Regions from separate parts of the Homo sapiens genome. Here regions 2, 3, 4, 5 and 6 are each linked to region 1. The links are contacts of gene promoters, found by promoter capture Hi-C in blood cells and fetal thymus (Javierre and others, 2016). All regions are on one chromosome and are shown on one strand. The core of a region is centred on a gene start or on the middle of the fragment in contact, and the rest is flanking DNA. Distances in the headings are between cores, read along the strand shown. Region 1 holds the start of FAM53B (family with sequence similarity 53 member B). Region 2 has its middle 36 kb from the start of OAT. Region 3 overlaps OAT (ornithine aminotransferase). Region 4 has its middle 5.6 kb from the start of OAT. Region 5 has its middle 2.5 kb from the start of NKX1-2. Region 6 overlaps LHPP (phospholysine phosphohistidine inorganic pyrophosphate phosphatase).

Region 1 (4,315 bases), core at 456-2,955:
GGTTAATAGCATAACTTCTTAAGCAAGTATATTCTAGACAGCCTCAAGAAAGCCTCAGAACCAGAAAAACAGGCTGCTTTAGGTTGGAAAGGAGGTGTTACAGCAGAGGAACTGGCCATGACCACCATCCTTGGAATGTGAAACGCAAATCATCCTGAAAGCAACAAGAATAATGGTTGTAATAATTGTTTCCAGGCCTGGGACCCTGCATCTTGTTTTTTAAGTTGACCTGATGAACTAGTAATTGTAGGAATAAACTGAATGTTTGCCAGCAGGAGTCACTCTAGGCTTCCTAATAAAACGTTAGTAAATTAAACTCTGTCCTTAAAGCTCTGAAAGGCTGAGGTGATTGTGTGATATCAGATGGCTTTAGGGAAACACTGACTCTTTTCGTTAAGCATAGCAGCATTCTTAGATTATTCCTTGGGCCTTCTTTTGTTCACCATCGGTTCTTGGATCTTGTTCCTTTCAAGATTGGTCCTTAATGCATTTTTAAAAAGCAACGTATATGGGTAAGGATATCAATATCTTAGTATGCTGTATTCTGTATGTTAGCTCATTTTGGCTTTCTAGGATGAACTGACTCTATCCCACATCATGTAACTTGAAATGAATAGACTCATATCCTTTCCACTGATTGCTGTCCATTCTAATCATGCAGCAGAACTCAGTGGAGCGAGCTGTAGTGTGAAAGGAGATGTCAGTTCATGCTTTTCTGAAAAGAATGGGTCCGGTGTGATGATATTCTGAAATATTTCAGCAATAGCCATGAAATATAATAGTTTCCCAAGCACACAAAGCTCAAGAAGTTAATTGTTCATTTATGTTTGATACTGGGATTGAAACATTGGATTAAAACCAATTAAATGTTCCTAGAAGCAACAGAAAAAGTTTCCTTATTTATGAATAGAACCATTCAAATGGCGCAGACACAATCCATGTAAAGTAATGAGGTGTTTTGTTTTTTTGGCAAAGGAGAACACAAAACAGGCATAGGGAGTTTTAAAAAAACTTCTCTTTAAAAATCGCTTTTTGGATACAAGGTCAATAAAATAACATACACCAGTAGGAAGGAGTAATGGGAAATCTAGGGCTTCACAAGGAAAACAATCCCCCTCCCCCAGGTGAGCAGCACAATGAAAATACTCTGCTTATTCTATCAGGGTTACATTCCTGAACTTAAGTCAACATCCTAAGTTACAGAACTAAACATGCTCTGCCTCTGCTTAGCAACCACAAATCCTTCCTTCGCCAGTTGCATGTATTTTGGATGTGGCTTCTGAAGTACACAGTCACAGCGCCCCGAGTTAGGAAATTTGCGCTTTATTTTCCCAAAGTGTGACAACACTTTAAGGTCCCCCCTCCCCGACCCCACCCGCCCGCTGTCCTGCACGCCACTGAAGTGATCGTTTCTTTTGAACCTCGGCATCTAACAACCCGGAAGCTGGACGCCTGAAGCCTATGCGGCCCAGCGTTTTCATCCCGGCTCGTGCTGGGGGCGGGGAGAGAAGCCCGTAGGGCCTCTGGCGCGGGGCCCGGGCAGCCGCGGTGGCGCGGCCCAGGCCCGGGGCCACTTCCCGCGTCCCGGGGCCTCGCAGGCGCGAGCGCGGCGAGCGGCGCGCGGCTGAGCCCGCAGGACGCCCTCTAGCCCCGCCGGCGGCGCGCCGCGAGTCCCTCACTCCCCGCCCATCGGCGGCTGCGCGCACTGCACACTCGCCTGCCGCCGCCGCCGCACGCCGCCTGCCTCCTGCACGCCGCCGCCGCGCCTAGCGCCCGGGCCCGCGACACCGCCCGCTAAGCGCCGGGCCGAGTTCACGCAGCCGCGGTCTGGCGGCTCCGCGGCGGCGGCGGGTGCGGGCGGCCTGGCCGGTGCCGGTTAAAGGGACGAGTTGCAAACACTTCAGGAAGTGACAAGTCGATTTCCTCCTCCCCGGGAGTCGCTCGTACAAAGCGCTCGGCGCCGGCAGGCGAGCGTGCGCGCGGCGGACGCGCGGCGGGCACCCCGGACGACTTGGCGAGCGCTGGCGGTGACGGCGCGGGGTCCGCGCCCGGAGCGCCCCGCCGCGCACAGTAAGCGACCCGGGGCCGGGCGGCGGCGGCGGTGGCCGGGGGGCTGGCCCCGAGCGAGGTCCGGGCCGTGTGCGTCCCGGCCGCTGGCTGGAGGGAGCCCGGCTCGCGTGCGCAATGGGCTTGCCTTTTTTTTTTCTTTTTTCCTAATGTTGCTGGTTTCCTTTTTTTCTGCCTTGTTTCGCCTTTGGGTTGGGTCGGGCGGTTTCTCCGGGCGCTCGGTCTCGCCCCTGATGCAGGCGTGAGACTTGTCAGAGCACAGGCATGGGGAAGAACAAGCCTGGCTGCGGCGGAAAAGTCTGCGCTCCCCAGGCCAGGGCGGGCGGGCGCGGGGACTGCTGCGCCCGGGGGTGTCCTCTCCGCGTCTCAACTTGAGCCCTGACTAGCCGCTGCGGAGGAGGCGCGGAGTCTCGGGAGCCGGGCGGCCCCATTCGCCCCGAAGTTCCCGCATCGTTTGCAGACAACTCTTTTGTTCGCGGAAGTTTGCACCCGCCACCCCCGGGGTGCGGGAGCGAGGCGGCGGGCTCCGCTGCTGCTGGACTGTCCGGGGCGGTCAGGATGGGGGTGAGGGGGCATTCTGTCCCGGGCGGGGGAAGCCCGCGGGGAGGCCACCGCTGGGGCTTGCGGAGTGGGGGCGTCCGCGCCGGCGTGGCTTTTGCACATGGCGAGAAGGGCCGTCCGGCACAGGCACACTGGTCGAGTCACATTTTTGCTAGTCTTGGATTTTGCAAGCCCGTGGGAGTCAGGTTCCCCGCTCAGGGTTTCTCTTGGGGCAGAGACGAAAGAAACGAGGACACCCAGAATCCGGGGAGGGTTTGCGGTTTGTGTTGTCCCAAGTGTGTTCTCGCTCCCCCCGCCCCCCCACCTTGTCCCCCAGCCCCCAGCTCTCCACCCCCATTTTCGGACTTGGGGAACAATGCTTGTAGTACGGGCCGGGGCGCCGCAGCAGCGACGAACCGCGCGGACAGGTTTGCCCGGGTCCCTCGCGTTCGGACGCCCCCTGAAGCCGAGCTCCTTCCATCTGACCGCCCGGGCTCATTAACACGTACTGTACTTAGGACGATGGTGAACAAAGAAAAGCTCTTTGCAGCGTTTGATGAATGGGATTCTGCCTCCTATAGGCCACACTCCGAGTCTTCCATACGGTACAATCTCCGGACTCGGTGGTGTTAGGAAAGTGGCCCCCGGAATGGCTTGCATTCCGGGTCTGGGATCCTGGGGTGGGCATTTGTGCCGTCGCCTTCGCCGCCGCGCTCGCCTTGCAGGAGCGGGTGCAGATGGAGCCAGGCTGACGGTTGTTCAACAGGAACAAATGTTTGTTCAATTGTTGGATGGTGGAGAAAAGGGACTGTTTCCTATTGACTGCTGCAGGAGTTGGAATGGCATTGTTTATTGGCCTGGGAAGCCAGGCAAGCGTCTTGTGCTGCTTACAACATATTAGCAGACTTCCAAATGACATGCTAGCATATGTGTTCCCAGCAGTCCCCACCGGCTGGCAGGGAGATTCCTCCTTGCTCCAGATCCTGGACTCGTTTAAAAGATGCCACCTGGTTTGAGGACTTGGGAAGGAATGGAGTCAGCCGACCAGGTGAAACTCACTGTTCCTTATTAGGCCAGGTTTTTGTTTCATTTTAATTTATCTATTTAAGAGTAACTTGTGTCAGTTACAGTTTTGATATTGAATTGCAGGTCTACAGGGTCCCCTCCCCCGCCTCTAGCTGTGGACTACAGAAACAGCTACTTGTCCCAGTTGATAGTCCCATTCAGTGGGAGAAGGTTTGGCTCAGGATTGGTAGCCCTTGACTCTGTGTCTGCACTTGGCTGTCACCCATCATGCGACCTGGGAGTCTGCCGATCCAGCTTCCAGGCGCTTTTTCAGGTTAAAAAGCTAAGGAGAGGCGTGGGGAAGGCCTGTATTTTTTTCTTCCAAACGTTCCTTCAGAGAACGAGGCGATTTAAATTCAAATAATGTTGCCCAACGACTTCCTATTTTCTTCTGAGAAGGTGAGATTCATGTGCAGTCATTTTGATATCAAAGACAAGTTTTTAAATAGAAACTAGCAACCTCACTGCTGCAGAAGTGGACTTGAATGTTCCAGTCTTCTCAGGACAAAGTAGAGAGCATTCCACTGTCTTGGTTCATAATGTTTTAAATCAGTTTCCCTCTTCTCTTTTCAACGTGGGGTATGTTGCACATAGCATTTTGAAAGTACGCAAAGTTCTTTTGGAAAGAGCTTTATGATACCTT
Region 2 (4,315 bases), core at 1,033-3,532, 360 kb after region 1:
AATGGATCGCAAAAGAGGGGGCCAAAGGGGTGATCAACTGCTGCTGGAGGGAGCCCTGGGGCTGAGCAGGGCTCAGTGGTCTTGCTAGAGGCAGAGAGAGGGGGTCTGGGATCAGGTAGGACAGAGGGGTCTTGAGCAAGGGGGGTCCTGGGAGACTCCCTCCAGCACTGAGGTGCTGGGCAGTGCTGGGCTAACCAAGGGCACAGGCCTGGGGCTGGCAGGCTAAGGCTGCCGGGGCACTGTTTGGTCCCCATCGTTCTCTGTCCTGCCTGTGGGGCAGCACACTGGCTACGGGGCAACACATCCGTCCCTGTCATGCTGCCGACTGGCATCAGGCAGGGGAGTTTGGGGACATCCCTACTGCAGGCCCCTCACCTCTCACTGGGGCCTTGGCCCTGTGAATTCCTGTGTGTGAATTATTCTGTGACGAGGATGAAGGGAGAGCTGGGATTCCCATCGGTCCCCTCTCAAGGACTCAGAAGAATGCTCTTAGACAGGTGAAAAATGGAAAAGCTTTGCTTAGCTAGCAGATTGCTCCTAAAGCAATTCACAGTTTGGATTGAAAAAGTGGGTTGCTGTTTCTTAGGCTGTCCCTTGGGATCCTGCCCTCCGAGGCTTGGCAGGTTTTTCATTCTGGTGAGAGAAGTCTTGGCTGGGGTCCTGTGAGGCTGAATGGAGCCCAGAAGGGCCACCAGGTGTCCTGATTGCAGAGGAATTCAACTTTGTTGGTTCCTTGCCTCTGCTTTGGTTTTAAATGAAGGATCAGTGGCCAGGGAGATTCTGGAAATAAATGTGAGTTCCTCAGCCACCGGAGAGCTAGCCCAACAGCGGCTTACACCTGTAATCCCAGCACTATGGGAGGCTGAGGCAAGAGGATCGCTTGAGCCCAGGAATTTGAGATCAACCTGGGCAACATAGTGGGACCCCATCTCTAAAAAAAAAAAAAAAAAAAATTAGCCAGAGTGGTGGCATGCACCTGTGGTCTTAGCTACTGGGGAGGCTGAGTAGATGAGCCTACTGAATCAGCCAGCAGATGAAGACATGTACCCTCCACTATCTTGAGTTATTCATGAGGTAGGAGGATCACCTGAGCCCAAGAGATTGGGGCTACAGTGAGCCACGATTGTACCACTGCACTTCAGCCTGGGTGACAGAGTGAGACCCTGTCACCCAGGGTCGAAAAAAAAAAAAAATAAAGACCCTGAACTATGTCTGTCATTTTTAGGATCGCAAAGACTCAGAGTGATAGCTGTTGATTCCACATGCTGGCCAGAGGGGCTGGCGGTGTGGGTGAGGTGCCTGCCTGGGGCTGCACATGCAGCTGACTCAGTGGTACATAGACTGTGCTTGAGTCGGGAGAGGGCCCTCAGTCAGGCAAGGTGGCCAGGTTGGGGTGTGTCAGGGAGTTCAGCTAGATTTAATTTTATTTAGAAAAACTTTCAAATGAGATATTTATTGAGTCTGAGTGTCGTGGAGCAAATTCATGCTTCTTTACACAAATAAAAATAATATTTGTGACTGGCAGCTGCTTTGTAAGTCTGTAGAGTGGATTCCTGTGCTTGGGGTGGACCTATTTGGTCAGTGGGGGCTTAGAGTTTTTTTTTTTTTTTTTTTTTTTGAGACAGAGTTTCGCTCTTGTTGCCCAAGCTGGAGTGCAGTGGTGTGATCTTGGCTCACTGCAACCTCTGCCTCCTGGGTTCAAGTGATTCTCCTGCCTCAGCCTCCTGAGTAACTGGGACTACAGGCATCCGCCACGCACCTGGCTAATTTTTTTTGTATGTGTAGTACAGACGGGGTTTCAGCATGTTGGCCAGGCTGGTCTTAAACTCCTGGCCTCAGGTGATCCGCCCGCCTCAGCCTCCCAAAGTGTTGGGATTACAGGCGTGAGCCACCACGCCTGGTCCCTTAGGGTTTTATGATGTCTGTTTTACAGACAAGGGAGCTAAGAGTCTGCCTAGCACCAACTTCACATGATGTCGGCGGCAGAGCTGGGGCAGGGTTCCACCACTCTGGCCCTCTGTGAGGCTAGAGGTCTTCAGTCTTTGGAGCACTCCAGGGACATGTGGCCACTTTTACAACATCTGTATGCCTTGTCTGGGGTGGGCCCGACACATACGTGTGTATATATACATATATAATTATTATTTTTGGAGACGGGGCCTCACTCACTCTGTCACTTAGGCTGCAGTGCAGTGGTGTGATCATAGTTCACTGTAACCTCAAACTTCTGGGCTCAATCACTTCTCTCGCCTCAGCTTCCCGAGTAGCTGGGACTACAGGTGTGTGTCATCATGCCTGGCTAATTAAAAAAAAATTTCTGGCCGGGCACGGTGGCTCACGCCTGTAATCCCAGAGCTTTGGGAGGCTGAGGTGGGCAAATCACAAGGTCAGGAGATCGAGACCATTCTGGCCAACATGGTGAAACCCCGTCTCTACTAAAAAATACAAAAAATTTAGCCAGGCATGGTGGTGGGCACTTGTAGTCCCAGCTACTCTGGAGGCTGAGGCAGGAGAATGCCGTGAACCCAGGAGGCAGAGCTTGCAGTGAGCCGAGATCGTGCCACTGCACTCCAGCCTGGGTGACAGAGCAAGACTCCGTCTCCAAAAAAAAGAAAAAGAAAAAAAAATTTCTTTTCTTTTTTTTTTGAGAAAGATTCTTGCTCTGTCACCCAGGCTAGAGTGCAGTGGCATGATCTTGGCTCACTGCAACCTCTGCCTCCCTGGTTCAAGTGATTCTCCCGCCTCAGCCTCTGGAGTAGCTGGGACTACAGGCATGCACCACCATGCTCGACTAATTTTTGTATTTTTAGTAGAGACAGCGTTTCACCATGTTGGCCAGGCTGGTCTCGAACCCCCCTGACCTCAGGTGATCTACCCGCCTCTGCTTCCCAAAGTGCTGGGATTATAGGCATGAGCCACCACACCTGGCCAAAATTTTTTTTTTTTTTTTTTTTTTTAGAAATGAGGTCTTGCTATGTTGCCTAGGCTGGCCTCAAGTAATCCCCCCTTCTTGGGCTTCCAAAGTGTTGAGATTATAGGCGTGAAGCACTTCCCCTGGCCTACATGCATATTTTAACAGACTTTCCAGGTGCTTCTGCAGCATAGCCAGGGTTGAAAACCCCTGGAGCAAAGTTTCAGTGATCAAAGCAAGAAGATTCAATTGGATCAGCAAGTCGATGAAGAGATGTACCGTCCACTACCTTGAGCTAGTCTTGACTTCCTCTAGTGACAATTGTTGACCGGTTTGTTTTCCTGGAGTGCACCAGACCATGCAGTTGGGATTATGTGTTCAGTGCTGACCCACTGCCAGCATTGGGAGTTGAGAATCCATAATTCAGCCACCTTTATTGAGTACCTGCTGTGTATGAGGCCAGGGATGCTGAGGCGGGTACTACAGAGAGAACCCTGGATGCCGGGACACTCATTTTAGCTTTACACATTCTGTGGCTCTGCCAGGGGGCACCCATCTGTGGCATTGCTGGGGCAGGGTGATGACAGAGGCTTCTGGGTGCTTCCAACTCTAGATGGGGTCTTGTCTTTACTGTCCTTGGGTGTCCATTCTGGCTCTGACATGGTTGGCTGGGAGCCCGGGACACCCAGCTAACCTTCCGTGCTCAGGGTTCTCTCGGTCAGTCCAGTTTGCATTGATCATAGTCCATAATCCCCTGAATGCGACATCAATTAAACAGTGTCCTCCACAGGAAGGGCTTTGATTTCTTTCCTCAGCTCTGACGGGCGGCTTTATTGATGTCGCTGCTTCTTTCCGATAGTGCTTGCGAAAGCCGTTCCTGTTCTCCACCGCGAGAGGTGCCTCTTGTTTCCAGTGATTTATTGCACTTACAACGTTGATGTTTACAAAGAACCGCATATTTATTCAAGCACAGAAGTTCGTTTCCCGCAAATACACGTGTGAAGGAAAACCAGATGAGTCAGAGTGTGGGAGGCCTTCCCAGCAGGATGGATGTTGGTTTCCTTGATTTCCCCAGCACACCTGCCCCTGCCTGGCTGGGCATCTTGAATCAATTTGCAGACAACTGCCAAGAAAAGCTTGAGGTGCATTATTTTCAGAAATTGATGAGCAATTCGAAATCAAACCAGGGTCTATTGGGTGTTTACAGTGCCAGGATCTGAGCTAGGGGCCAGAGAATGAAAGCTAAGAAAAGACAGATAGCATCTCAAAGTCGTGGGGGAGGAGAGACAAAAACAGCAAAACTCATACAAGTCAGGATGAAGAAGTGGTTGGGACAGAGCTGGGGATGAGCACTGAGGAGCTGGGGCATCAGAGGAGGAGCTGGAGTGTCAGGGCAGTGCACGG
Region 3 (4,315 bases), core at 1,816-4,315, 340 kb after region 1:
CAACATCTAAAACAATGCCTGACATAGTAGATCCTCAGTCACCTTTATTAATGGATAAAAAATATTCCAGCAGAAAGGGAGACGTCTGTCATTTAGCATCATAAAGGATTATAATATCAAGGAAGGTAAAATGGAAACGTGTTTGGATTGCTTGAGGATCTTTTCTCCAAATGAAATTGGAAATGCATTCTGTTGTTAGCCTGCAGTATTGGAGTTTTGAAAGGAAAACCGCTAATTGTCTATGAAGGATATTCTTTCTCATATCACTATCATAAATGCACCTTCTCTAGAAAACATGCATTCAAGACCTCAATTGTTAGGGCTTGGTTTTGGGTTGGGGATTATTGAAAGAAAAGTAAGTTATCTATCTTCAGGGGCTATATATTCCAGTCAAGAGGCTCAGTAGAGAGAAATGCCTAAAATAGGAATTACAAGGCCAGACTTAGTGGCCTTGTGTCATAGGAGCCATGGTGTTTAATATCAGACTTTGTTTTAACAATTGAAAGCCCACCGAAGGTGCACTAAAGCAAGCCCTTGATTTATTTTTTGAGTCAAACTTCTTGTGGTGTTTTGCGGGGATAGTGCTTATTGAATTTTGGGTTTCTTTGAAATAATCACTGTTTGTTTCCCCTTTGTAGCTGGGAACTTCTGGGGTAGGACGTTGTCTGCTATCTCCAGTTCCACAGACCCAACCAGTTACGATGGTTTTGGACCATTTATGCCGGGATTCGACATCATTCCCTATAATGATCTGCCCGCACTGGAGGTATTTCACTAGCATCATAGTGCTCAGCTCATTGGGAATAGAAATTAAAGCTGTTGAATATATGAATTAAAAGTACATTATATGACAGTAATGCAAATTTATCTCACTTAAGTTAAGCCACGATTTCAGACTTGTTCTCAGTAGCGATCAATTAGTTTCCAACACAGAGAAAGCTGAGTTCTGTGATCTACTCTGTACAGCCAGCCAACTACTTTAGATGTGTGTCCTTCATAACAGTTAACTTCGGTATACCTGCTTACTTACTAGGTAAAATTTCTGTTTTTAGCTAGCTTTTTAAAATTATGAAGTGGAAGACTTTTTAAGAAAGCCTTAAGTTGGCTTTAAAAGGCTATTTACTTTAGATTTAATTTAAGTAATTAATTTCTTTTTTTGAGACAGAGTCTCACTCTGTCACCTAGGCTGGAGCGCAGTGGCACAATCTCGTCTCACTGCAAACTCCGCTTCCTGGGTTCAAGTGATCCTCCTGCCTCAGCCTCCCAAGTAGCTGGAACCACAGGCACACACCACCACACCCAACTAACTTTTCTATTTTCTTTAGAGACATGGTTTCGCCACGTTGGCCAGGCTGGTCTCGAACACTTGACCTCAAGTGATCTGCCCACCTTGGCCTCCCAAGGTGCTGGGGTGACAGGCATGAGCCACTGTGCCCAGCCAGATTTAATTTAGGTACATTTGTGTATTAGAAAACAGGCTGGGCATGGTGGTACATGCCTGTAATCCCAGTGCTTTGGGAGGCCAGGGCTGGAGGAGCACTTTGTGTTCAGGAGTTCAAGACCAGCCTGGGCAGCATAGGGAGAGCCTGTCTCTACAAAAAAATTTAAAAATCAAGGTCAGGCGCGGTGACTCACGCCTGTAATCGCAGCACTTTGGGAGGCCGAGGCAGGCAGATTGCTTGAGGTCAGGAGTCGAGACCAGCCTGGCCAACAGTGAAACCAGAGACAGTGGTGAAACCCTGTCTCTACTAAAAATACAAAAAAAAATTAGCTGGGCGTGGTGCTGTGCGCCTGTAATCCCAGCTACTTGGGAGGCTGAGGCAGGAGAATTGCTGGAACCCAGGAGGCAGAGGCTGCAGTAAGCCAAGATCGTGCCACTGCACTCCAGCCTGGGTGACAGAGTGAGACTCCATCTCCAAAAAAAAAAAAATGAAAATAAATAAAAAATTAGCTGGGCATGGTGCGCAGCTACTTGGCAGGCTGAGGCAGGAGGATCACCTTGAGCCCAGGAGTTCGAGACTTTAGTGGGCCATGTTTGTGCTGCTATACTCCAGCCTGGGCAACAGAATGAGGCAAAAAAGGAAATGTAGGCTAGTGTAACTTAAAGGTGAGGTATTTGGAGCTTCTGATAATTGAATGGCAGTGAATTTGAAGTCAGAATTTACGTTAGTGCGAAAACTTGATTTGCATACTTAATGTAAAATATGTGTGGTATATGCTTTCAGATTTCCAAGTGTGGTAGAAAGGAAGTTATTAAAACTTATTCCTGTTTCTTCTGTAGCGTGCTCTTCAGGATCCAAATGTGGCTGCGTTCATGGTAGAACCAATTCAGGGTGAAGCAGGCGTTGTTGTTCCGGATCCAGGTTACCTAATGGGAGTGCGAGAGCTCTGCACCAGGCACCAGGTTGTCACGTTAGCTGTTTGTGATAAGGCTGAATGTCGAGTTAGCTGTTTGTGATGAGGCTGAATGGGCTCCTCCCCAACTCCTCTCTGAATTCTGCTGATTGGATAAATGCAAAGATTAAATTACTTTCCACTAGAGGGCGATGGCATTCTAAGAGCTTAAGTACTTCCTAGTGCTTAGAAACCTGCACAGAAGCAGACTTTTTCCTGTCTCTGGCCTTGTCCTGGGCCCTGTGCAGAACTGCAGACCTGGTCTTAACAGCGTTTCCTTCCTCGCTGCTCTAAGAGCCTTTCACTCTGAGCCCCCGCAAGCCCTTTGTTGTATTCTCTCCTCCTTTCCCCCAGGGCTAATAGTAGTATATTTTGTTTACCATTTGAGAGTTTCTGTCACATATTAAATGCTTGTGGAATAAACAAATGAATTAATTTGTTCCCAGAGGGTAGTTAGGTCCAGAAAAGCCATACAAAACCCTCACCTTTGCATCAGCACCTTTTCACTATGTAGAGCAGGGCAGAATGGGCCTCTAGGGAGATAGTGGCCTGACAAAGGAAATAGTTGGTGAGTCTACAAGATTCTTATAGGATACTCTTGAAATTGTGTGCAGTTAAAACATTTTTACAAATTTGAGGGCACATCAGAATTACACATTTATTGTTGGTGGGGGGACAGTGAAATAAGGATGGCTATTTTCCCTGTGGAAACGAAAGTGATCACTAATAGGGGTATTTTTTTTCCCCAATAGGTTCTCTTTATTGCTGATGAAATACAGACAGGATTGGCCAGAACTGGTAGATGGCTGGCTGTTGATTATGAAAATGTCAGACCTGATATAGTCCTCCTTGGAAAGGCCCTTTCTGGGGGCTTATACCCTGTAAGTTTCATGTTCCCCCTCTTTCCATTTCCTACTCTTGTAAAATATACCCCTAAAGTATTTATACATCAACTGATTGTGACAACAATGCTTTCAGATTGTTTGATTTTACCAAGTGTGCTGCAGGCCACCCGGAATATCTGTAATAAAAACATTTAAGGGACCAGTGTGTGACCCACTTACTTATTGCCTGAAGAATTGAGTGTGCCTTGGAATTTGCTATGACATTGGATTTGGGTGGAAACAGTTTACCCCCAAAGGACTCCTGTAGACTCCTGTCCTTTTTTCCAGTGTTCAGAAACATGGCATATTACTAATTGTTTAAAACCATGACTGGTGAACAAAGAGACTGAGAAAAATTAATGTTTGTTGTAGTTCATGTCTTGGGTTTGCCTTTCAGAGCCAGTAATTGTTACTACATCAGAGGTCTCTGAAGTATAGATGTTTTTGCTGAATAGACAAAACTTTTGCTAAAAAGAATGCTCAGCTTTGTTTTTTAAGCATTTAAACAAAGCATTTCATCTCGACGTTGGAAGTGATTGTGAAATTATATCATTGCAGAAATAGCTTTTCTCTTTTAGTTGCAAAATTATATTGTTTTGTGCCATTGAAGTGTACCTAAAGTATTTGTAATGTTTTAGGGTATGACTAAGTCATTAGGTTGTTACTGGTAGTTAGGTTGGCAGATGTAAACTCTTTCGTTGAAGTCATTAAGTATCAGTTTCTTGGCCGGGTGTGGTGGCTTATGCCTGCAATCCCAGCACTTTGGGAGGCCGAGGCAGGCAGATCACCTGAGGTCATGAGTTCGAGACCAGCCTGGCCAACATGGTGAAACTATATCTCTACTAAAACTACAAAATAAATAAATAAATAAATAACATGTGTGGTGTGGTGGTGGGCACCTGTAATCCTAGCTACTTGGGAGGCTGAGGCAGGAGAATTGCTTGAGTCCAGGAGGCAGAGATTGCAGTGAGCTGAGATCACGCCACTGCACTCAAGCCTGGGTGACAGCGAGACTCTGGGGAAAAGGATGCTTAGTA
Region 4 (4,315 bases), core at 1,325-3,824, 320 kb after region 1:
ATTAGGTCAGGAATTTGAGACCAGCCTGGCCAATATGGTGAAACCCCGTGTCTACTAAAAAATACAAAAATTAGCCAGGCATGGTGGCGCCCGCCTCTAGTCCCAGTAGTCCCAGCTACTTGGGAGGCTGAGGCAGGAGAATTGTTGGAACCCAGGAGGTGGAGGTTGCAGTGAGCCGAGATCGTGCCACTGCACTCCAGCCTGGTGACAGAGCGAGACTCTGTCCCCCAACTCCAAAAATAAAAAAAGAGAACAAAAGAAAAAAGAGAGAAAGGAAGGATTCTATATGACTTTTTTTTTTTTTAATAGGGTCTCACTCTGTCGCCCAGACTGGAGCGCAGTGGCACCATCTCGGCTCACCGCAACCTCTGCCTCCCAGGCTCAAATGATTCTCCTGCCTCAGCCTCCTGGGATTACAGGCGCACACCACTACCACCCAGCTAATTTTGTATTTTTAGTAGAGACGGGGTTTCACCATGTTGGCAAGGCTGGTCTTGAACTCCCGACTTCAAATTATCCACCCACCTTGGCCTCCCAAAGTGCTGGGATTACAGATGTAAGCCACTGTGCCCAGCTTCCTATACCACGATTAAGGATGTGACAGCCACAAAGACAGAGCGTATTGATGACCCAAATACCAGGACTGGCATTGCTTTTGGTGAACTCGATTGTCCCAAACGGTGAAACTCTCTGCAAAGTTCTGTGCAAAAAATATTAAATGTTTTCAGCAAAGATGAAATGATTTACAATACCCATTGTATTAATATATTTATTTCATAGCATTTCATATATTTATTCCATACATTTACTTAGGTCAACAATTTCAGGAATAAACTGTGGAAATTTCTTCTTTTCTGGTTTGTTTTTATTATAGTCCAACTTCAAAGAGTCAGAATTAAAGTCCTCAAAAGAAAAGTAATCAAAGTTATCTAAGTTTGCCATCATGGAATCAATAAAAAAAATCATTGCAAAACACACTGATCTTCTTAGTACCTAAATAGATAAGGATATAAAGTAAATGTTTAACTAGTAATTGAGGTTTATCTTATTTTTTAAAATTAACGAGCAATGTAATATTCTTTAAATAAATACTGCTGCTCATTCCTTAAATTTTTATTAAAAACTTTTATTTCAGCCTTTTTTGTTCTTAGTCAAAATTCTTACTTCTGATTAAATGTCTCAAATGTGGAACATGATTGGTAGAACACACAGTTTCTTGGCTGTCCCTGTGACCCATTTCGTAAGACAGGTGGGGGCCCTTTACCTTGGAATCTTGGATTGGATTTCTCTGCCTTTAAAAGAGTTAGATTAGTTTTTTTTTTTTTTTTTTTTTTTACAGAGTCTCACTCTGTCACCCAGGTTGAAGTGCAATGGTGCGATCTTGGCTCTTGGCAATCTCTGCCTCCTGGATTCAAGCGATTCTCCTGCCTCAGCCTCCCAAATAGCTGGGATTACAGGCATTTGCCATCATGCCCAGCTACATTTTTTTAGAGATGGGGTTTCACCATGTTGGCCAGGCTGGTCTTGAACTCCTGACCTCAGGTGATTCGCCTGCCTTGGCCTCCCAAAGTGCTGGGATTACAGGCATTAGCCACCGAGCCTGGCCTAGATTAGGTTTTAAAGTGTCTCTTTATCTCTAAAATCTATTCTGTATTTGCATCTCTAATGCCTATGTTCATAAGAAAGAAAACATATTATTTTTCTTTTTTTTTTTTTTTTTGAAATGAAGTCTTGCTTTTGTCCCCCAGACTGGAGTGCAATGGCACGATCTCGGCTCACTGCAACCTCCGCCTCTCAGGTTCAAGCGATTCTCCTGCCTCAGCCCCCCAAGTAGCTGGGGTTACAGGTGCCTGCCACCATGCCCAGCTAATTTTTGTGTTTTTAGTAGAGATGGGGTTTCATCATGTTGACCAGGCTGGTCTCGAACTCCTGACCTCAGGGGATCTGCCCGCCTCAGCCTCCCAAAGTGCTGGGATTACAGGCGTGGGCCGCTGCGCCCAGCCAACATATTATTTTTCAATATTGAGCCTTAGCTGACTTTCACAGCTCCGTGAGCCTAATGGCTTTTTACGTCTTTGCTTCTGGGCTAATTTGAATAGTCCTGACCCCCTGGCTTGGTAAGCTGAATGGGCCTGGTCCTCCTCCATCCCTCTTCTGGTATTTTCTGTTCCCCCCACTCCCCTGTACCCAGTTTTTCAGGCACCCAGTGTCCTCTGGCCTCAGCCCCCCAGCTCTCAAGATCCTCGCAGAGGCTCCCCTCCAGATCTCATGCCACATCCAGAGAATTGTCAATCTCCTCTCCAGACAACTGTAAATGTGCCAGGCCCAGGTGACATTCCTTCAGCGGGACAGTTAGCCAAATGTAAATGGGCAATAATGCTTTGAAGTATCCTCCTGCCTTCAACTCAAGCTTCTAGGGCTTTAATTTGAATAGCTGTCGCTATTCTAGGGTTGAGGAGAGGCTCTTGGAATCTCAGAACCACTCCCAAAATGATTACCTGCTCTGCCTCTGATTCCTGTCCAGAGGAATAAAGATGAATAGTGACGAACGAGTGTAGAATAGTAATTTCTACTAGAGCCATGTAGAGATGGGCGCTGGGAGGCTGTGAAAATCCTGCAAGACAAGCTCTGCCTTTAAGAACTTAAATGTGGTTGGGAAGATAAGACACTGCCAACCTCAAATAATGAGACTCAGAAAATACAGTGAAGTATAGAGTTTATTCAAGCCCAAAGCTTGAGGATGGCCACCTGGGAACAATCCATTCAAGTTGCCCTTATCATACACTCTGATTGACGTCAGTTACAAGTGGGTTTTTTTTGTTTTGTTTTTGTTTTTGTTTTTGTTTTTTGAGACAGAATCTTGCTCTGTTGCCCAGGCTGGAGTGCAGCAGCGTGATCTCTACTCACTGCAACCTCCACCTCCTGAGTTCAAGAGATTCTCCTGCCTTAGCCTCCAGTGTAGCTGGGATTACAGGTGCATGCCACCACTCCTGGCTAATTTTTGTATTTTCAGTAGAGACGGGATTTCACCATGTTGGCCAGGCTGGTCTCGAACACATGACCTCAAGTGATCGGCCGCCTTGGCCTCCCAAAGTGCTGAGATTACAGGCGCGAGCCACCGTGCCCAGCCCCAAGTGGGTTTTTAAGGAAAAAAGAAAAGGCAATTCCTAAATTGTTTACCAAGAATTTACATTAAAATAAGCTACTGATTGTCTATACATTGTTTTTTGTAACTTAAATTCCAGGAACATGAGATGAGTGTGTTAGGTAGTCAGGAACAAAAATGCCTTTAAACATCTACCCCCGGGCATGAGTTTTGGGGGTTGTAACTGATGTCTGGTGTTGGTGTTTCTCTGGCCTGATTTTGCAAACCTTGAATACCTGCTACGAGTGAGTTTTCATTTCATTTTTTTTTTTTTTGAGACAGAGTTTCACTCCTGTTGCCAAGGCTGGAATGCAATGGCGTGATCTTGGCTCACTGCAACCTCTGCCTCCCGGGTTCAAGCGATTCTCCTGCCTCAGCCTCTCGAGTAGCTGGGACTACAGGCATGCGCCACCATGCCTGGCTAATTTTGTATTTTTAGTAGAAACGGGGTTTCCCCATGTTGGTCAGTCTGGTCTCAAACTCCCGACCTCAGGTAATCCTCCCACCTCGGCCTCCCAAAGTATTGGGATTATAGGTGTGAGCCACTGCGCCCAGATGAGTGAGTTTTCTTTTCTCAAATTGATAGAGCTAGAGAGCCAGAGAGATATTGTAGGTTAAAAAACGACCGCAGGCCAGGCATGGTGGCTCACACCTGTAATTCTAGCACTTTGGGGGGCCGAGGCCGGAGGATTGCTTGAGCCCAGGAGTTTGAGACCAGCCTGAGCGAGATGTCGAGACCCTGTCTCTATGTGTATTTTTAAATTAAAAAAAGAAAAAAGACTGCAGGCCAGCCTGACGTGGACAGGAAGTGCTCAGGAAGAGGACGAGGCCCCTTCAGTCTCAGTCGTCAGGGAGGGTCTCACCTGGGGGACGGGAAGGGGTTGCAGCCTGAGTTCGTAGGTGGAGCTTGGCTCCGGGAGAGAAAAATTAATACTCCCGTCAGGCACAGCCTCATATGAGGACCCATAGACGAACGGCAACATTTCTGAGTCTCTGTCTATCATTCCCAGTTCAGAACGTTTACCATCGATCACTCTCCCACTGTCCTCGATGCCTTGCTTAACTTGCTCCTTCCAGATCCCTGCCTTTCTGGACTTAAAGGAGGTTTGCTCTCCACCAGACCTAAATACCTGTCCTGACTTGGTGCACTGGGAGCAGGAAGGATGCGTT
Region 5 (4,315 bases), core at 663-3,162, 290 kb after region 1:
AAAGGGGTTACCCACAGGCTGTCTGGCAGTTGAGGTGTCCCTCTTTGTCATCAAGCTGTGTCTTATGAAGCTGTCTCTTTGGCACATATATCCTACCCTGGGGGCTGGCTCAAAACGCAGGGTTTTACCTGGAGAATTTCAGTTGCATTTTACTTTAGGAACATAAGATTTTATCTAAAATGCTTTAACACGGCTCATAATATTGCCCCCTCCCCCCCACTCCCTCTGCATAAACTGCAAATTCTTTCCATTGTTAACACTATTCATGGCACTCAGCGGCTCTTCAAGGCTGTGCTGGAATTATAGGCACCTTTGTTTGTGGAATACCTTAGGAAGCTTGGCACCATTGATTTGCATCAGTGCCTCCGGAATAGCCTTTGCCTTCTCCTTAAAGATACTATCTAAACTGTGAAATTCATTAAATAGCCCCAGAAATGGATCAGGTTATTTAACACAACATCCCTAATGGTGCAATATCTCAGCTGTCTGCACGGATAGTGAACATTGTCTTGGATAGTGTTATCAGCCCAGGACACCCGCTATGAATATTGATCCCGAGCTTGTTACAGGCATCACTTGCTATCAGGACAGGTCAGGGTTGGAACCCACCTAGCATCAAAGCAATTTAAAGATAGCACTCAGGCGGAATTTTAATGCCCAGGCTGAAAAAAAAAAAATCAACTCTATGCACAGAGGGAAGGTGGCTTGCTGGATCTGGATATGTTATATAGGAATAGCGTGGGTATAAATACACATGTGAGGATGTTAGTGAGCCAAACACATGGCCAAGTTGTACTGAAAAGGATGCTCACTGCCTCCTGGTCTTTTACAAAACAGGTGGCCAGAAAAAAAAATTACCTAGGACCTCCTCCTCCACTATCCCCCACGTTGAAGAAAGTATCCTGTTCTTTGGTTAGCAGGTTTCTCTTTAAGTTGGATGAGTAAGAGAGGGCATTTCTATCCCTTCAGTGTTGATGGGAGACCCAGCGAAGTTTCTTGTGTGCCATCTATTGCCTGCAGCCAAGTACTAAGCATGAGCATTCACATTACCTTGTGCTACAATGAACACACAGACCAGAAATATCTGGCCGGGCACAATGGCTCATGCCTGTAATCCCAGCACTTTGGGAGGCCAAGGCGGGCAGATCACTTGAGGCTAGGAGTTCGACACTAGCTTGGTCAACATGGTGAAATCCTGTCTCTGTTAAAAACACAAAAAATTAGGCCAGGCACGGTAGCTCACGCCTGTAATCCCAGCACTTTGGGAGGCCGAGGCAAGTGGATCACAAGGTCAGTAGTTCGAGACCAGCCTGGCTAACATGGTGAAACCCTGTCTCTACTAAAAATATAAAAATTAGCTGGGCGCAGGAGTGTATGCCTGTAGTCTCAACTACTCGGGAGGCTGAGGCAGGAGAATCGCTTGAACCCAGGAGGCAGAGGTTGCAGTGAGCTGAGATCACACCACTGCACTCCAGCCTGGGTGACAGAGTGACACTCTGTATCAAAAAAAAAAAAAAAAAAATTTAAGCCGTGCGTGGTGGCTCACACCTGTAATCCCAGCACTTTGGGAGGCCAAGGCTGGTGGATCACATGAGGTCAGGAGTTCAAGACCAGCCTGGCCAACATGGTGAAACTCTGTCTCTACTAAAAATACAAAAATTAGCCAGGTGTGGTTGTGCGTACCTGTAATCTCAGCTACTGGGGAGGCTGAGGCAGGAGAATCGCTTAACCCCAGAAGGCGGAGGTTGCAGTGAGCCGAGATCATGCCATTGTACTCCAACCTGAGAGACAGAGCAGGACTCTGTCTGAAACAAAACAAAACAAAAGAAAACATTAGCATGGCATGGTGGCACGTGCCTGTAATCCCAGCTACTCGCCAGCTACTCAGGAGGCTGAGGCATGAGAATTGCTTAAATCTGGGAGTTGAAGGCTGCAGTGAGCTGAGATCGCGCCACTGCACTCCATCCTGGACAACAGAGCGAGACCCTATCTCAAAAAAAAAAAAAAATCTGAAAAATAAGGGGCAAGCAAAACAGAAAACCACTAAGAGAAGGAGTTTGTAAGGATTCACAGGTTTAAGGAATGTGGCCTCTGCCATTCTTGGCTTTCTCTCCAATTTGTTGCTTCTTCCTTTTTCGGCTCCTTCCCTATATTTAACATCTGTGAACCTCAAGGGAAAGATGATTCATATCATTTAAACAAAATTTTTTGAGGTAATCTATGGAGTACAGTGGAAATGATCCGGGATTGGGTTACTCTTGGCTGTCTGGGCCTCCCTTGTCCCTCTGGTTTGGGGTATAGGGTGGCCCCTGGAATGCCCACCATCCTGTGAAAATAAAGAGTCTCAAGGTTTCTCATAGGAGAATGAATAAGAGGGACAGTGGGAGGCCACATACTTCCATCTGGGGCTAACTTAAGGAAACCTATTCCTAGCTATCCTGAGAACCTCAGCATTTAAAAATATAAACATGGGCCAGGCACGATGGCTCATGCCTGTAATCTCAGCACTTTGAGAACCCAAGGTGGGCGGATCACTTGAGATCATGAGTTTGAGACCAGCCTGGCCAACATGGTGAAAACCTGTATCTACTAATAATACAAAAATTAGCCGGGCACAGTGGCGCGCACCTATAATCCCAGCTACTTGGGAGGCTGAGGCAGGAGAATTGCTTGAACCCAGGAGGCAGAGGTTGCACAGTGAGCCAAGATCGCGCCACTGCACTCCAGCCTGGGTGACAGAGAGACTCTGTCTCAAAAAAAAAAAAAGTAAACATGGTGGGAAAATGTAGAAGGGGCGGCTAGGATCAAAAGGGTGAAGGGGGAGAAACAAAAAGGAAGATTAGAAAAAAAAATCGAGAACTGGGTGAGAAAGCATTATCAAAACAGAAAACAAAGTACCCCATCTGTATTTCAGGAAGGCTCTGTGATTTGCAGTCCAGGTTGTCGGGCGCCACTTTTTAGTTTCAGGGCCATCTTTTCTTTGGGATTTTCACATTCCCTTCGATGGGAGGTGGTCCAGTGGACTTGGGAAGGGCACTTCCTTTCCTGAGCTTTAAAAGCACAATCCGTCTTCACTTTAGGACTGGAGCTGGCTTGATTTCCGCAGGCTTTAAAGTCCGCAGGGAATACAGTGACCACCTCTGGGAGGGGCAGCAAGGTTTGAATGAGAAAAGCTACAAGGAGCTGGCTTCTAAGGATGCCTCTTCAATAACAGATGGGATTAGCAGCCCCCAGCACTTTAATGAGAAGGTTTCTCCTCCTCTTCCTACTCCTTACCTGCTCAGACAATATTAATTGCCAAGTCATTGTTTGGAAACCCTATGGGGCGGAGAAGAAAGGAACGGCAGAGTCAGAGGTGGTTCTGGGCCAAACACTAGGAGAAGCCTCAGAATTTGCCTGAAACAAATGCTTAGTGCTCACAGACTGCTGTGTGCTTTCCAAGAGACAAAAGAAGAAATTCAGGATTGGTGTGGCCAGTGGAAGCTTCTCCGACCACTGGTGATCACTTTCCCAGGGGACTTGGTGGGGCAGATGAGGGCCATTTCAACTGTCTCTCTTCTCGGACCTTAAATTCAAACCAGACAGGCATTTCTGAATCTTCTGCTTCTGGGGCTGAGAGGGAATGGGGGTCAGAGATGCAACCTAATTCTCAGATCCAATTTCTGTTGCAAATGATCGAATTTGTGACTCTGGAGAAGGCCTGACGTTTGTCCATTGAGGGCTGTGCTCCGGGTCACAGCAAACCAGGGCAGACACCCTCAGCCATCTCACTTGGCTCTGTGCCTGAAGCCACCAAGGTTTCCAAAGCGGCTGGAATCCCGGTGGGGGCTCACCACCTCTCCAAACCTCTTGCTGGCCTCTGGCTTGGCTTTGGAGTGGAAGCAAAAGACTGAGAGTCCGGGATTTTCTCCCTCCGTTTCTGAGACAGCAGGATGTACTAAAAAAGCACTGACTGGTCCAGTAGAAGACCGAGGTCCAAACCCAGACTCTGTCACCAACTCACAGTGACCCTGGGGAAATCTTTTCTTACCTTTGAACCTCGATTTCCTCATCTTTAAAACGGGGACAGTGGTCTGTGCCACGTGACGCCCATCTCACAGGGATGCTCAAATAATCAAAAGAGATCGTGCAAGCCTCAGGGCTTTGTGAACGCTAAACTGTGAGAACGTGAGGGATTTTACCTCCGAGGTAACCGGGTCTGAAGCTATTACAGTAATTCACTGGCGGGGAAGGAGATGCGCTGAGCATTGCCTGGGAGTAAGCAGTCCTGGCCTCAGTTGCATCCCCAAGTCTAAGGCGGGTGCACCGGAGAAAG
Region 6 (4,315 bases), core at 665-3,164, 270 kb after region 1:
GAGAATCACTAGAACCTGGGTGGCAGAGGTTGCAGTGCGCTGAGATGGCACCACTGCACTCCAGCCTGGGCGACAGAGCGAGACTCCATTTCAAAAAAAAAAGACATGAGAAGCACCTGGCACATTTCAAATACTAAATAAATGGCAGTAATTGCTGTGGTGGTGACAATGACAACCACGTCTCTGACAAACCCACTGTTGGGGCAGGTACATTCTGAGAGGAAGCCAGGTGCCCTGGGAAGGAGGCCAGCAGGAGGAGCCCAGAGTGTATCGCCCAGGGGCACCTTTAGAAAGAGGGGAAAGTTTACACCAGCAGGGAGCCCAGGGTGAACTGAGCCCCAGCAGTGGCTACAGCAGCGCCCGGTGACTGGCTCCTCCTCCACCGAGCCCCAACGGCATGTTCACATCGAATCCTCTTGACAGTCTGAGAGGTGGGTTCATGTTTCCATTTACAGATGGGACCTGTGGTTTGGAGATGGGACCTGTGGTTTAGAGATGGGACCTGCTGTTTGGAGATGGGACCTGTGGTTTGGAGGGGTTCAGTGACTTGTCTAGGGACAGAACTGGGATGAGAATCCTTTTATGTTGGCTTCATGAAAATACAAACAGATGTGGAAAATACAGCTCCTTGAGCAGAACTGTGTGCTTTGGTTTAGCATGTACACCGAGTTCAACAACTACAAGACTTCATATGGCCGGGCACGGTGGTTCATACTTGTAATCCCAACACTTTGGGAGACTGAGGTGGGCAGATCCGTTGAGCTCTGGAGTTCAAGACCAGCCTGGGCAACGTGGCAAAACCTTGTCTGTACTAAAAATACAAAAATTGGCCAGGTGCAGTGGTGTGCACTTGTAGTCTCAGCTACTTTGGGGGCTGAGGTGAAAGGATCGCTTGAGCCCAGGAGGTCGAGGCTGCAGTGAGCCAAGATTGTGCCACTGCACTCCAGCCTAGGTGACAAAGTGAGACCCTGTCTCAAAAAAAAAAAAAAAAAAAAAAAAAGGGCAAAGCAACCCACTCTTCAAAATTATTTGACCCTTCAACAACAAAATGCTCCTTTAGCTCCTAGATATGGAATAAGTAAAACGTTGGCTTTTATCTCCTGATAGTTTAAGGTAAAAAGGAAAAGAAAACAAAAACTTAAAAAAAAAGGAAAACGTTGGCTTTTGTTTGTTTTTGCTTTTTTGAGACCGAGTCTCGCTGGTATTGCCCAGGCTGGAGTGCAGTGGTGCAATCTCAGCTCACTGCAACCTCCGCCTCCCAGGTTCAAGTGATTCTTCAGTCTCCTGAGTAGTTGGTATTAGAGGTGCAAACCACTGCACCCAGCTAATTTTTTTATATTTTTAGTGAGACGGGGTTTCACCATGTTGGCCAGGCTGGTCTTGAACTCCTGACCTCAGGTGATCCACTTGCCTCGGCCTCCCAAAGTGCTGGGATTACAGGCATGAGTCGCCTCGCCCCACCCAAACATTGGTTTAAGAGAAAATATTTCACTTAATTCTTGCAGCCTGGGTACAGGAATTACACATAGGAAACTGGGGCCCTTGAGCTGCAGCCATAATGGGGTGACGGAACGCTAAGGGACTTCCTTGAGGCCACATGGCAACTATGGGGCAGAGCTGGGATTGGAAACCCACGCTCTCACACTAGAGCTGACACCTGGCACTTTCTGTGACAGGATTAAGCTTTGCAACAGGTAAGAGGTGGTGCCTGCCCTGGCAGAAGCAGCAGCCCTCAGTCCCCCTCAAAAGGTGTCTGAATAAGTCCTATCACTTCTGTGAACCTTAAGTTCCTCCTCTACAAGCTGGACAGCAACGTGCCTGTTGCCGGGGGCCTGGGAAATCACCCTGCACACCACAGTGGGCAGGTGTGGCACTGCTTTGCCAATATGGCTTCTTGCACGTTGTGGGGCACTGGGGGTAGGGGCAGGACTCCATTCATGAGCTTTGTAACTTGTGCCACACTCCCCTTGTAATTGGCCAAGGGCTTCCAACCAGAGGCAGCACCTGCAGGGTAAACCAATAATCCTGTGCCAGACCCACCCTGGCTGCCCTTGATTTTCACAGGGTGACCCCCGCCCACCAAGGCTGAGATCAGAAACTGAGAAGCAGACCTTACTCCTGCCAGCAGAGCCACGGGAAAGCTTTCAAGCAGCCATCAGATTTTCCTCAGTCTCTTTCCATACAGTTCAAGTTTGTGATTCTATTATGACTCTACCCCAGATATACGGGGGTGGTTGTGTTTCCTTTGTTTTCTCTTAACAAAAATGGAAGTTTAGGCTGGGCGCAGTGGCTCACGCCTGTAATCCCAGCACTTTGGGAAGCTGAGGCGGGCGGATCACCTGAGGTCAGGAGTTCAAAACCAGCCTGGTCAACATAGTGAAACTCCGTCTCTACTAAAAATACAAAAGTTAGCCAGACGTGGTGGCAGGCGCCTGTAGTCCCAGCTACTCAGGAGGCTGAGGAGGAGAATCGCTTGAACCCGGGAGGCCAAGGTTGCAGTGAGCTGAGATCGCACCACTGCACTCCAGCCTGGGTGACAGAGCGAGACTGCGTCTCAAAAAAAAAAAAAAAAGTAAGTTTATACACATTATTCTACAGCTTTTTCACTTGGTATATACAGCACTCATATCATATAAACTAATGTCAGCACCAAACAGAGCGAAGTCATTCTTTCATAGCTGTCTAACAGTCTGAAGTCTGGATAAACCAGAAAACATTCACTCATCCCTCCTAATAAGCTCGCTTCCAGCACTCACATAAACTTCTAAGCATATAAACTGTGTTGTGTGGTTCACTGCTGCAGACCTCAACATTTTTTTTGAGACAGAGTCTTGCTGTGTCTCCCAGGCTGGGGTGCAGTAGCACAATCTTGGCTCACCCCAGCCTCTGCCTCTCGGGTTCAAGCAATTCTCACGCCTCAGCCTCCCAAGTAGCTAGGATTACAGGCGCACAACACCACACCCAGCTGATTTTTGTATATTTAGTAAAGACGGGGGTTTCACTATGTGGGCCAGGCTGGTCTCAAACTCCTGACCTTATGTGATCTGCCCGCTTTGGCCTCCCAAAGTGCAGGGATTACAGGCGTGAGCCACTGCACCCAGCCCAACATTGTTATTCATAAAAACACTTCCATCATTCTCATCAGTTGACCTCAGAACAAACATTATAAATTTGAACACAGAAAACATATTCCATTCTGAGCTAGACACGGTGGCACACACCTATAATCCCAGCTACTGGGTAGGCTGAGGCAGGAGGACTCCTTGAGGCCAGGAGTTTGAGACCAGCCTGGGCAATATATTAAGATCCCATCCCTATTAAAAATAATATACTATTCAAACACTGTTCTCATAAATATTTATATATAAATATATATATATACAAATATATATACAAATATATATATACATAAATATATATACAAATATATATAAATATACATAAATATATATACAAATATATATAAATATACATATATATAAATACATATATAAATATATATAAAATATAAAAATATATGTAATATATATAAATATATAAAAAATATATAAATATAAAAAAATTTATATATATATAAATATATATAAAATATATATAAATATATATAAATATATAAATATATATAATATATAAATATATATAAATATATAAATATATATAATATATAAATATATATAAATATATAAATATATATAATATATAAATATATATATAATATATAAATATATATATTATATATATATAATTTTGGAGTTCTACTCAAAATTTCATTTGGTTGGATAAGTGCTCTGAGGCTACAAAGAATTCAAAACTCCTGGCCCGGGGACCTGCAAGGGGTCTCCAGCCTCCAGTGACCTGTGACTAACCAAACACATGCCTTGGGCAATGGTGGGGCGGTGGCATTCAAGAGTGATGGGGCAGGTGCCCGCAGAACTGGACAAGAGTCAGGGAAGGCTGCATCTCAAAATCCTCTGTGCTTTTGAGGAATACGAAGGAAAAGGATGTATTGTGTCACCCTGGGGAAGTCACTGGGACTTGGTCGAGGATGGAGGACTTGGACTTTTCACTCTGTATATTCACAGGCTGGTGAGAATGTTTACATAAGGAGGCCACCTATTTCTTATGAAACTTAAAATGTTGAAATGACAGCTGAAATCACAGAACCCAGGGTGAAAGAGCACCGGCTCCCATCTCTGAAGACAAAGTGCTTCACCTCCTGACAGCAAATGGGACCACAGGTGACGACAGCACGTTCTCGACAAACACCCCTTGTCCAAGGTCCAGGTTGCATCAGGAAAACTCCTGTTGGCTTAAA

The links. Contacts are between HindIII fragments. The CHiCAGO score rates a contact against its expected background, and 5 or more counts as called.
Region 2: a contact is called between a fragment that was not itself captured here and the fragment with the promoter of FAM53B in region 1, in 3 of 17 cell types (total CD4 T cells, naive CD8 T cells and naive B cells). The highest score is 5.4, in total CD4 T cells.
Region 3: a contact is called between a fragment that was not itself captured here and the fragment with the promoter of FAM53B in region 1, in 7 of 17 cell types (naive B cells, total B cells, naive CD4 T cells and 4 more). The highest score is 11.4, in naive B cells.
Region 4: a contact is called between a fragment that was not itself captured here and the fragment with the promoter of FAM53B in region 1, in 7 of 17 cell types (total B cells, total CD8 T cells, total CD4 T cells and 4 more). The highest score is 8.5, in total B cells.
Region 5: a fragment that was not itself captured here is called in contact with the fragment with the promoter of FAM53B in region 1 in 9 of 17 cell types (naive B cells, total B cells, total CD4 T cells and 6 more); the score reaches 10.3 in naive B cells.
Region 6: a contact is called between a fragment that was not itself captured here and the fragment with the promoter of FAM53B in region 1, in 9 of 17 cell types (fetal thymus, activated CD4 T cells, non-activated CD4 T cells and 6 more). The highest score is 12.0, in fetal thymus.

The regions. Positions count from the first base shown.
Region 1 is chr10:124,741,768-124,746,082 of GRCh38, reverse strand. It overlaps FAM53B (family with sequence similarity 53 member B), which reads left to right and starts at 1,705. Exons shown (of 5, transcript NM_014661.4): 1 at 1,705-2,070. RefSeq lists silencers at 1,467-1,606, 1,737-1,786, 1,807-1,916, 1,967-2,126, 2,447-2,656 and 1 more. The HindIII fragment of the contact is 7,750 bases long and covers 1-4,315 here.
Region 2 is chr10:124,380,676-124,384,990 of GRCh38, reverse strand. No RefSeq gene overlaps it. Among named protein-coding and RNA genes, the nearest start is that of OAT, 36 kb to the left of the region's middle. The HindIII fragment of the contact is 3,534 bases long and covers 516-4,049 here.
Region 3 is chr10:124,401,887-124,406,201 of GRCh38, reverse strand. OAT (ornithine aminotransferase) reads left to right here. Exons shown (of 10, transcript NM_000274.4): 5 at 639-766; 6 at 2,282-2,404; 7 at 3,147-3,275. Among named protein-coding and RNA genes, the nearest start is that of OAT, 15 kb to the left of the region's middle. RefSeq lists a silencer at 2,368-2,662 and enhancers at 2,368-2,662, 2,199-2,742. The HindIII fragment of the contact is 9,199 bases long and covers 1-4,315 here.
Region 4 is chr10:124,422,400-124,426,714 of GRCh38, reverse strand. No RefSeq gene overlaps it. Among named protein-coding and RNA genes, the nearest start is that of OAT, 5.6 kb to the right of the region's middle. The HindIII fragment of the contact is 323 bases long and covers 2,413-2,735 here.
Region 5 is chr10:124,450,360-124,454,674 of GRCh38, reverse strand. No RefSeq gene overlaps it. Among named protein-coding and RNA genes, the nearest start is that of NKX1-2, 2.5 kb to the right of the region's middle. RefSeq lists enhancers at 2,659-3,215, 3,216-3,771. The HindIII fragment of the contact is 3,147 bases long and covers 339-3,485 here.
Region 6 is chr10:124,470,818-124,475,132 of GRCh38, reverse strand. All of the region lies in intron 1 of LHPP (phospholysine phosphohistidine inorganic pyrophosphate phosphatase), which reads right to left. Among named protein-coding and RNA genes, the nearest start is that of LHPP, 11 kb to the right of the region's middle. RefSeq lists an enhancer at 1-333. The HindIII fragment of the contact is 458 bases long and covers 1,686-2,143 here.